Linked DNA regions of Homo sapiens: regions 1 and 3 are each linked to region 2. The links are contacts of gene promoters, found by promoter capture Hi-C in human tissues and cell types (Jung and others, 2019). All regions are on one chromosome and are shown on one strand. The core of a region is centred on a gene start or on the middle of the fragment in contact, and the rest is flanking DNA. Distances in the headings are between cores, read along the strand shown. Region 1 has its middle 410 kb from the start of SASH1. Region 2 holds the start of SAMD5 (sterile alpha motif domain containing 5). Region 3 has its middle 280 kb from the start of SAMD5.

Region 1 (3,012 bases), core at 486-2,985, 420 kb after region 2:
GTTTGTATCAGTTCTGATTTCTTTGAGCAGTGTTTTGTAATTCTCATTGTAGAGATCTTTCACTTCTCTGGTTAGCTGTATTCCTAGATATTTTATTCTTTCTGAGGCAATTGTAAATGAGATTGTGTTCCTGATTTGGCTCTTGGCTTGGCTGTTGTTGGTGTGTAGAAACGTTCACGATTTTTGCACAGTGAGTTTGTATACTGAAACTCTGCTGAAACTGTTTATTAGCTGAGGGAGCTTTTGAGCTGAGACTATGGGGTTTTCTAGATATTGAATCACGTAGATATCTGCAGACAGGGATAGTTTGACATCCTTTCTTCCTACTTGGATGCCTGTATTTCTTTCTCTTTCCTGATTGCTCTGGCTAGGATTTCCAATGCAATGTAGAATGGGAGTGATGAGAGAGGGCACCCTGGTCTTGCGCCAGTTTGCAAGGGGAATGCTTACAGCTTTTCCTCATTCAGTATGATGTTGGTGGTAGGTCTGTCATAGATGACTGTTATTATTTTGAGGTATGTTCCTTCAATATCTAGTTTACTGAGAATTTTTAACATGAAGAAATGTTAGATTTTATCTAAAGCCTTTTCTGTATCTATTGACATAATTGTGTGGTTTTTGTCTTTAGTTCTCTTTATGTGATGAATCACATTTATTAATTTGTGCGTGTTAAACCAAACTTGCATCCCAGGGATGAAGCCTACTTGATCGTGGTGGATAAACTTTTTGATGTGCTGCTGGATTCAATTTACAAGTATTTTGTTGGGGAGTTTTGCATCAATGTTCATCAAGGATATTGGCCTGATGTGTTCTTTTTTTGGTTGTGTCTCTGCCAGGTTTTTGAATCAGGATGATGCTGGACTCATAGAATGAGTTGGGGAGGAGTCCTCAGTTTTGGGAAATAGTTTCAGTATTAATGGTACCAGCGCTTCTTTGTACATCTGGTAGAATTCCACTGTGAATCCATCTGATCTTGGGCTTTTTTGGTTTTTAGTTGGTAGGCTAGTTATTACTGATTCAATTACAGAGCTCATTATTGGTCTGTTCAGGGAATCAATTTCCTCCTGGTTCAGTCTTGGCAGGATGAATGTCTCCAGGGATTTATCCACCTCTTCTAGGTTTTCTAGTTTTTTCACATACAGGTGTTTGTAATACTTTTTGATAGTTATTTTTATTTCTGTGGCATCCGTGGTAACATCTTCTTTGTCATTTCTATTTGTATTTATTTGGTTCTTCTCTCTTTTCTTCTTTATTAGTCTAGCTGGTGGCCTATCTTACTATTTTTTTGAACAACCAACTCCTGGATTCATTGATATGTTGAATGGTTTTTCGTATCTCAGTTTCCTTCATTTCAGCTCTGATTTTGGTTATTTCTTGTTTTCTGCTAGCATTGGGCTTGGTTTCCTCTTGCTTCTCTAATTCTTTCAGTTGTGATGTTAGGTTGTTAATTTTAGATCTTTCTAACTTTTTGATGTGGGCATTTAGTGCTATGAATTTCCCTCTTAACACTGCCTTAGCTGTGTCCCAGAAATTCTGGTATGTTGTATCTTTGTTCTCATTGGTTTCAAATAACTGCTTGATTTTTGCCTTAATTTCATTATTTACCCAAAAGTCATTCAGGAGCATGTTGTTTAATTTCCATATAATTATGTGGTTTTGAGTGTTTTTTTTTTAGTCTTGACTTCTATTTTTATTGGTCCAAGAGTACATTTGTGGTGATTTTGGTTCTTTTGCATTTGCTGAGGATTGTTTTTCATGGTAGTCTTTTAACTAGAGCAGTCACTCAAATGCATTCAACATATGTGTCACAAAGAACCACACTGTCCTGGTTCCAAAATACTTACTTTGCCCAGTAAGTTCAGTTGTCTTCACTTTTTTAATGGGTTTAAATATTCCCAAACCTAAACTGGTGTCAAAGTCAGGTAGTCAAGATTTAAAATTAGAAGGTGCTGTAAGAGACATAGTTCAGCCAATCATTTCCATTGAGTGGACACAGGGAAATAACATCACTTCTCTAAGGCCACATAATGGTTGGCCAAGACAGCAGGAAACCAAATCTCCTGATGCACTATTTTATTTACACCAGTGGGTCTCAACCCTATCACACCTAACACCCCGTTTTAATATAAATATTTTCTAATTTTATCTTTCTCACCTTGAAATGTAATTCATAAATGATATAACTAACATGCATATATTTTTAAAAACCAAACTAAAACTTACCAAAATGAAGAAATAAAAGGAAAAATTATAATAAAATAATATGCATTGCAATCTGTAATGCTTAGACATGGCATCACTGGTGGGCATAATTATGTCAGATGGTCACACTTGTATGTAGAATGACATCTACAAATGCAGACTGATGCAGTTGGGTTATGTTGGCAACTTATATTCTGCTACTGGATTATCACTGTTGATGGGATTTTCTGAATTGGTGAACAAATCTTGGTAACATTGGGGGGGAAAGTACAGCTCTCCTTTGATACACACAGTACTTAAATTCCTAGAAAATTTAGTGTAGCTGAAAACTTAGCCAAAAGTAATTTATGTTTGAAATAGTTTGATTCTGGGTTAAGTTAGTTACAAACCAGTTTTCACCTACATAAATGTCTGGTACAGCATTTAAAATGTATGTGAGGAAAAATCCTTTATTGTATGGCACTCTCCTACACACTGTAGATTGTGCAGCATCCCTGGCATCTGTCCACTAAATGTCATAGACCTTTTGCTGCTTAGAAATGTCTCCTATCATATACCCTAGATTATCCCTCTTAAGTTCAGCCATCCACGAAACTCTAGTGCATGGACACAAGGCAGCCAAGTACTTTGCTATGCCTAGTAAGAGCAACCTTTGCTCCAGTTCCCAATAAGTTCCTCATTTCCATCTGATACCTCCTCTGCATGGCCTTTCCTATCTGTATTTCTATCAGCATTTTGGTTACAACACTTAACTAGTCTCTAAGAAGTTCCAAACTTTCCTTCATCTTTCTGTCTTCTTCTGAGTCCTGA
Region 2 (3,002 bases), core at 257-2,756:
GGGGGTTAAGCTCTCTTGGTTTAGGATAAGAGGGCCCACCTAACCACCCACCCAAATGCCAAACACACAGCAGGTCGAGAAACGACTCTGAAATCACTCCTTGTCCACTTCCCAAGGTCGGGCGAGAGACTGGCACGCCCCACGGGCAATCTTCAGAAAAAAAGGTCAGATCTGGTCCTTAAACAGCTCAGGTGCGAAGCTGAATCGCCCTTCTGCGGAAAGAGAGGAGACAGTACCTGCCCCCGCCGTCCCTCACTTCCCTTAGTCCCAAGAAGAGGTCAGACACCGGGAAATGGGGCCCAGGCGCTTGGTCTGTTCCACCTGCCACTCGAGTCCCCAGTCCCAAGAGGCTGCTCAGACATTGGCATGATGGGGAAACTCGATTGATTTTGTTACCTCCTAGAGGGAAAATGCCGTGGGCGGAGATGTCTGAGCGTCCCTTCCAACACGAGCTGGGTGGTGCTCTATTGATTTTCACGCGATCCCCGGGCGGGAGCGAGAGGATAGGCTCGGATTCCCGGGCTCCAGGACCGAACGCCTGGCAGTGTCCCCGGGGGCAAAGCCACCCCGGGAGCCCGTGCAGTATACTAGGTGGGGGGCCCGGAGAGAAAGCATAGCGCCGACGAGGGGGAGGGGCCGGGCAGAAAGGAGGGTGGGGTACCGGGTGGGACACACTGACCTAGGAGAAAGTACAACCCACCCCAAACTTTCGCAGACCCGGGAGCTTAGGAAGGGAGAGCCAGGAAGACAGCAGCCTCTCCTGCCGCCCAACGTGCCCAGCTGCAGCGAGGAGGGGCGGCGCGCAAGCCGGCTGGACCCGGGCGGTCCCCACGTTGCGCCCACCCTCCGGGCCAAAACGCCGCCGCTCGGGTCACTGAGTGGCCGCCCACGGAAGAAGTCAGATCGCCGGGCTCTGGGCTGCGTACGGGATCCGAGGAAGGGGGATTCAAACGCGGATCCGGAAGGAAGGGACACTGAACCCCGCAGCGTCCCCAGCGCCGTGGGGCGGCGGGACGTGTCCTTGGGCTGCCAGCGGGCGCGGAAGCTGGAGTCCGGCAGGGTCGGGAAGAAGTGAGCACAGACTTCCACGGGTAGAAGAGTCAGATTAAACAGAAATGTGAAAAGCAACCCAGGGCAGCCAACGGAGCCCAGCAGCGTAGAAGCCACCGGCTTCCCGCCGGGAGGACTACAGTGACTGACACTCGCGAAGACTAGGCGCTCCCAGCGGCCGCGGGTCTGCGTGGAGAAGTCGCCTCGCGGCGCGGAGCGCGCCAGCGGCGGCGGCGGCTGCCAGAGCGCGAGATGCGGCGCGCAGCCGCCGGACCGTCCCGGCTGGGAAAACTCGCGGGCGGCACTGCGCAGCGCTGACCCGGCGCAGGTCCGAGGGGTGTGCCCCGGCCCCTCCCGTCTCCGCCCCCTCCCGCGCCAGTCGCGCGCCCCTCCCCGCGGCGGCAGCGTCGGCGGCGCATCCAGGGGCGGCGCGGAGCCTTGCTCAGCCCAGCAGCCAGTGCCTGCGAGCTCCGCTGCTGCTTGGGGAATTCACTTTGCTGCTTGTTCGCTTCTCCCTTCCTCAGGCTTCTTCTGATGGTTTTCCGTCTCCTGCCCGAGCCTTTCCTTTAAAAGGAAAACTTTACTGCGATACCCTTTTCCCCTTGGAGGAGAGGATTAAAAGTTCCAAGAACTGGTGCCGCCCGTGCCATTTGGGCGCTGGGAAGGTGCTCGGCGGCGGGGTTCCCGGTCCCACCATGTGCACCAACATAGTTTACGAGTGGCTCAAAGCGCTGCAGCTTCCGCAGTACGCGGAGTCCTTCGTGGATAACGGCTACGATGACCTGGAGGTGTGCAAGCAGATCGGGGACCCGGACCTGGATGCCATCGGGGTGCTGGCGCCCGCGCACCGCCGCCGTATCCTGGAGGCCGTGCGCCGGCTGCGGGAGCAGGACGCCAACGCCGCCGGCCTCTACTTCACGCTTGAGCCGCAGCCGGCGCCCCCCGGGCCGCCCGCCGACGCCGTCCCCACCGGCCGCCGGGGGGAGCCGTGCGGCGGCCCGGCCCAGGGCACCCGCGGGGACTCTCGCGGCCACACGACCGCCCCCCGCAGCAGGGAGCTGGTGAGCTACCCCAAACTGAAGCTGAAGATCATGATCAGGGATAAGCTCGTCCGTGACGGCATCCACCTGAGCAAGCCCCCGTACTCCCGCAAGGTAAGGAGGTGCCGTCCGGGCGGCCCGGGGCGCGCGGCGGGAGGGGACACAGCCCAGCTGCCTGTGCCAAGGCTTTGCAACCCATTCCAGGTGACGACGGAGAGGCCAGGAGGCTTTGGGTATCTGGGACCCTTTTCTATGTTCTTTCTGTATTAGCCCATTATTTCGTCCTTCCTGGTGTCTCCAGTGGTTGGTAAGACAAGCCCCCGCATCCAGATGTTATCTCTAAACTAACGACCAAAACTCCGCATCCTCTCTGGTGCTCGCCTGTCAGGAATCGGACTCGCGCTGCTTCACCTGGTAGCCAGGGGGAATTCCTAACGCCCTCTATAGTAGTTTTGGGTTTGAAGAGTACCAGAAAAAATGGTTAATACCTACATTGCTTTCTACCTTCCTTTTTCTCTTTCTTTTCCTTTTTTGAGTCTTGAGAAACTCCTAAGGGAAATCGGTGAACTCTTTAAAGAGTGGAAAGTCAGGCCCTGCCTTTCTCAATTCCATAAAAAATCCCAGCGCTGCTGCAAATTTGAGAAGCTTACCATTCACATGAGCATTTTAAGAGGAAAAGTGAAGGAAGCACGTGTCAGTCCACTTGAGATGATTTCCTAAACTTGTGTATACTGGAGGCAATAAGGTGCTAAGGACATCAGAGATAATCGGGCCACAGGATGTGCTTCAGAGGTCTGGGCTGTCACGAGTTTGGTTTATTATTAAGCCAGATAAGATGAAGTAGGTACAACTGTGACTTCCAGGAAGTGTGAGTGGACCTGCATTTGGGAGAGGAGGACCGAGCACAAGTGA
Region 3 (2,759 bases), core at 239-2,738, 280 kb after region 2:
GGTTTTCTAATTTATTTTAAAATCATTCACTCTTTCTTAAGCTTTTCCAAAGCAAGAGGTGTGGGTGAGGGAGTATTTCCTTGAGCATCAGCTGTACTGGAATATTCTAGTATGTTTGACTTGATAGTTTAACTACAAGGCATGACCAGCCACACTCTGCAGTCACATTGACTTCTTAGAATTTTGAGATTTGCAAGGATATTTGTCTTTCACCTTGGTTAAATACTTTGCATACAGAATTAAGTAATTTCATTAAAGTGCATTGGAGGAGAAAAATAATTTATGACAGGAAGTCTATAAGTATAAGGAGTTTAGCCAGAAGTTGTGATGTAATGTTAAACAAATAACCTTCAAAAATTATCCTGAAAAATCTATTTGTATGTCCATAAAAAGGACCTACAATTTGTGGGGTGGGCTCCAATCATAAAGAGTTTTGTTACAGAAATCTCTCAATGAAATGGCTAATTTTTTCTTTCCAATTGCCCATGGAAATGGAATTAAGCCTCGTTAACTTGAAATAGAATGGCTGTCCTCCATGATGGAGCAGGACAGTGCCTCTAGATAGCACAGATGCAAAGTCCTCAAAGTGTATTTCTCTCACCTGCGGTAGTCACGGAGAGTTTTAAAAAATTACTTTATAAATCTTACTTTTTGATAATTTCTGAAATTGAAATAATTTGAGCTGAAGCCTTTATTGCATTGAGTTTCCATGTAAGTCAAAGACCAGTAGACATGAATAAGAATTAAAGAGATCCACAAATAGAGCCCTAAAAAAAATCCACTTGCATTTCACATGGATGCCACAATTGGACTCAGTCCTGAATTGTCACTGACAGGTTTCTCAATCTTGTCAGTAATGATGGCATCCTGGTGGTGGCAGCAAACAGAGAGCAATTTTCTGCAGTGACTGTTGTGGACAATTTGTATTAAGATGAAATGTTATGAGACAAATATATGAAAGCCTCGTTCTTGCTTCTGTGTGATGCAAATTTTCTTTTCCCTGCTTGGTCAAGCATGGAGTACCGAAAAAAGATTTGGAAAAGATGCATTGGCACTGGATTGCAAAGTGTCATTGTATCCTTTTCCAACACAACATTCTTACAGTAAAGGCAGAATGAGTTACGTGTACTATCAGTAGCTCCGTAGCGCCAAGGCTCATTTGGCCATTTAAAGGTATCTTTTGGGCTTCTTTGTCAGCTGTCAAAGGAGAACATATTTGGCTTACATCAAGGGTTGCATAAGTATTCGGTGAATGGTTAATAAGGCTTTTCTTTTAATGTGAGACAGTAATTTGAAAAAGTCTGCTTGGATGTCAACCCAAACAGCTGAGCTTGCTATTTGATTAAGGAATTGGAGTTGCATGGGTGGGTTTATTGGAAATGGCAGACACTGAACTGACAGATGTCTGCCCTGAAGGTTTACAATTCTAAATCTTTTGTTTTCAAAATATTTAAGGTAAAATGTTTACATTGAAACAGAATCCTATGGATATTTCAGTATACATATTGCACGTATAATTAAGGCTACCTACATTATTTTGAAAGCTAGTGACAGCTACAGAGAGTTTATACCACTAATAAATGTAAACAGAAATTACTGAAGAGTTTGGCATATTACTTTCTTGAATAAAACATCATATACATGAACTTGAATATTATATTGAGAGAAAATTGAAAGTAGGCTACAAAATTAATAGTGAAGTATTTGCATTTTTTCCCATGAGGATTATAGATGTTTTTAAATGTGGCTATAAAAATACAAATATTTTTCTTTTTAAATATAGAAACACATCTGTGCTTGTACCTGCAAGAGTTGATGCTTTTGTGGATAAAAGTCTATACTTTCAAAATAAGATTTTCCGAGTCAATGTAGCCACTTCCAATAGTTGATATAGCGTAGTGGTTAAGAATATGAGTGAAGTTTTTAGAATAGCTCTAGAAAATATTAAGTACTATGTGAATATTAGCTCTTGGCTAATGGAGGTGTGATGATGCTTGCCAGTGAGTGGCAAAAGTCACTTCTTTTATAAATTTTGATTTGAGGCCTATTAAAAACCACCACCAGGACGGATGCGGTGGCTCATGCTTGTAATCCCAGCACTTTGGGAGGCCAAGGCGGGAGGATCACGAGGTCAGGAGATCGAGACCATCCTGGCTAACACGGTGAAACCCCATCTTTACTAAGAATACAAAAAAATTAGCCGGGCGTAGTGGCAGGTGCCTGTAGTCCCAGCTACTCGGGAGGCTGATGCAGGAGAATGGTGTGAACCTGGGAGGTGGAGCTTGCAGTGAGCCCAGATCACGCCACTGCACTCCAGCCTGGGTGACAGAGGGAGACTGTCTCAAAAAACAAACAAACAAACAAAAAAAAAAACACCACCATCCAGGCACACTGGGTCATGCCCGTAATCCCAGCACTTTGGGAGCCTGAGGCAGAAGGATTGCTTAAGCCCAAGGAGTTCAAACTTACTGTGAGCAAGGATGATGCCACTGCACTGAACTGCAGCCTGGACGATGGCATAAGACCCAGTCTCTAGAAAAACACACACACACACACACACACACACACACACACACACACAGTCAAAACCCAAAACACTACCGCACACACATACATACAGGTAAGTGCCATAACTTTATAACAGCACTTCCTATTCATGCTTCTGCCATCTCCCTGCCCAGAGATATATTTTTTTAATTTTTGAGAGTTATTTTTTAGGAGGATGATATGTAAAGTAAGCATTTTATTTGAAAATATTT

Evidence for each region. The method cuts DNA at HindIII sites, captures the fragments that hold promoters and counts their contacts. A contact is called where the count stands out against the background at its distance.
Region 1: a contact is called between a fragment that was not itself captured here and the fragment with the promoter of SAMD5 in region 2, in 1 of the 25 tissues and cell types used here (IMR-90 fibroblasts).
Region 3: a contact is called between a fragment that was not itself captured here and the fragment with the promoter of SAMD5 in region 2, in 1 of the 25 tissues and cell types used here (mesendoderm cells).

The regions. Positions count from the first base shown.
Region 1 is chr6:147,927,316-147,930,327 of GRCh38, forward strand. It overlaps a transcript of SAMD5 not described here. Among named protein-coding and RNA genes, the nearest start is that of SASH1, 410 kb to the right of the region's middle. The HindIII fragment of the contact is 4,328 bases long and covers 1-3,012 here.
Region 2 is chr6:147,507,184-147,510,185 of GRCh38, forward strand. SAMD5 (sterile alpha motif domain containing 5) reads left to right here and starts at 1,507. Exons shown (of 2, transcript NM_001030060.3): 1 at 1,507-2,204. The coding sequence starts at 1,746. The HindIII fragment of the contact is 17,257 bases long and covers 1-3,002 here.
Region 3 is chr6:147,786,739-147,789,497 of GRCh38, forward strand. It overlaps a transcript of SAMD5 not described here. Among named protein-coding and RNA genes, the nearest start is that of SAMD5, 280 kb to the left of the region's middle. The HindIII fragment of the contact is 5,197 bases long and covers 1-2,759 here.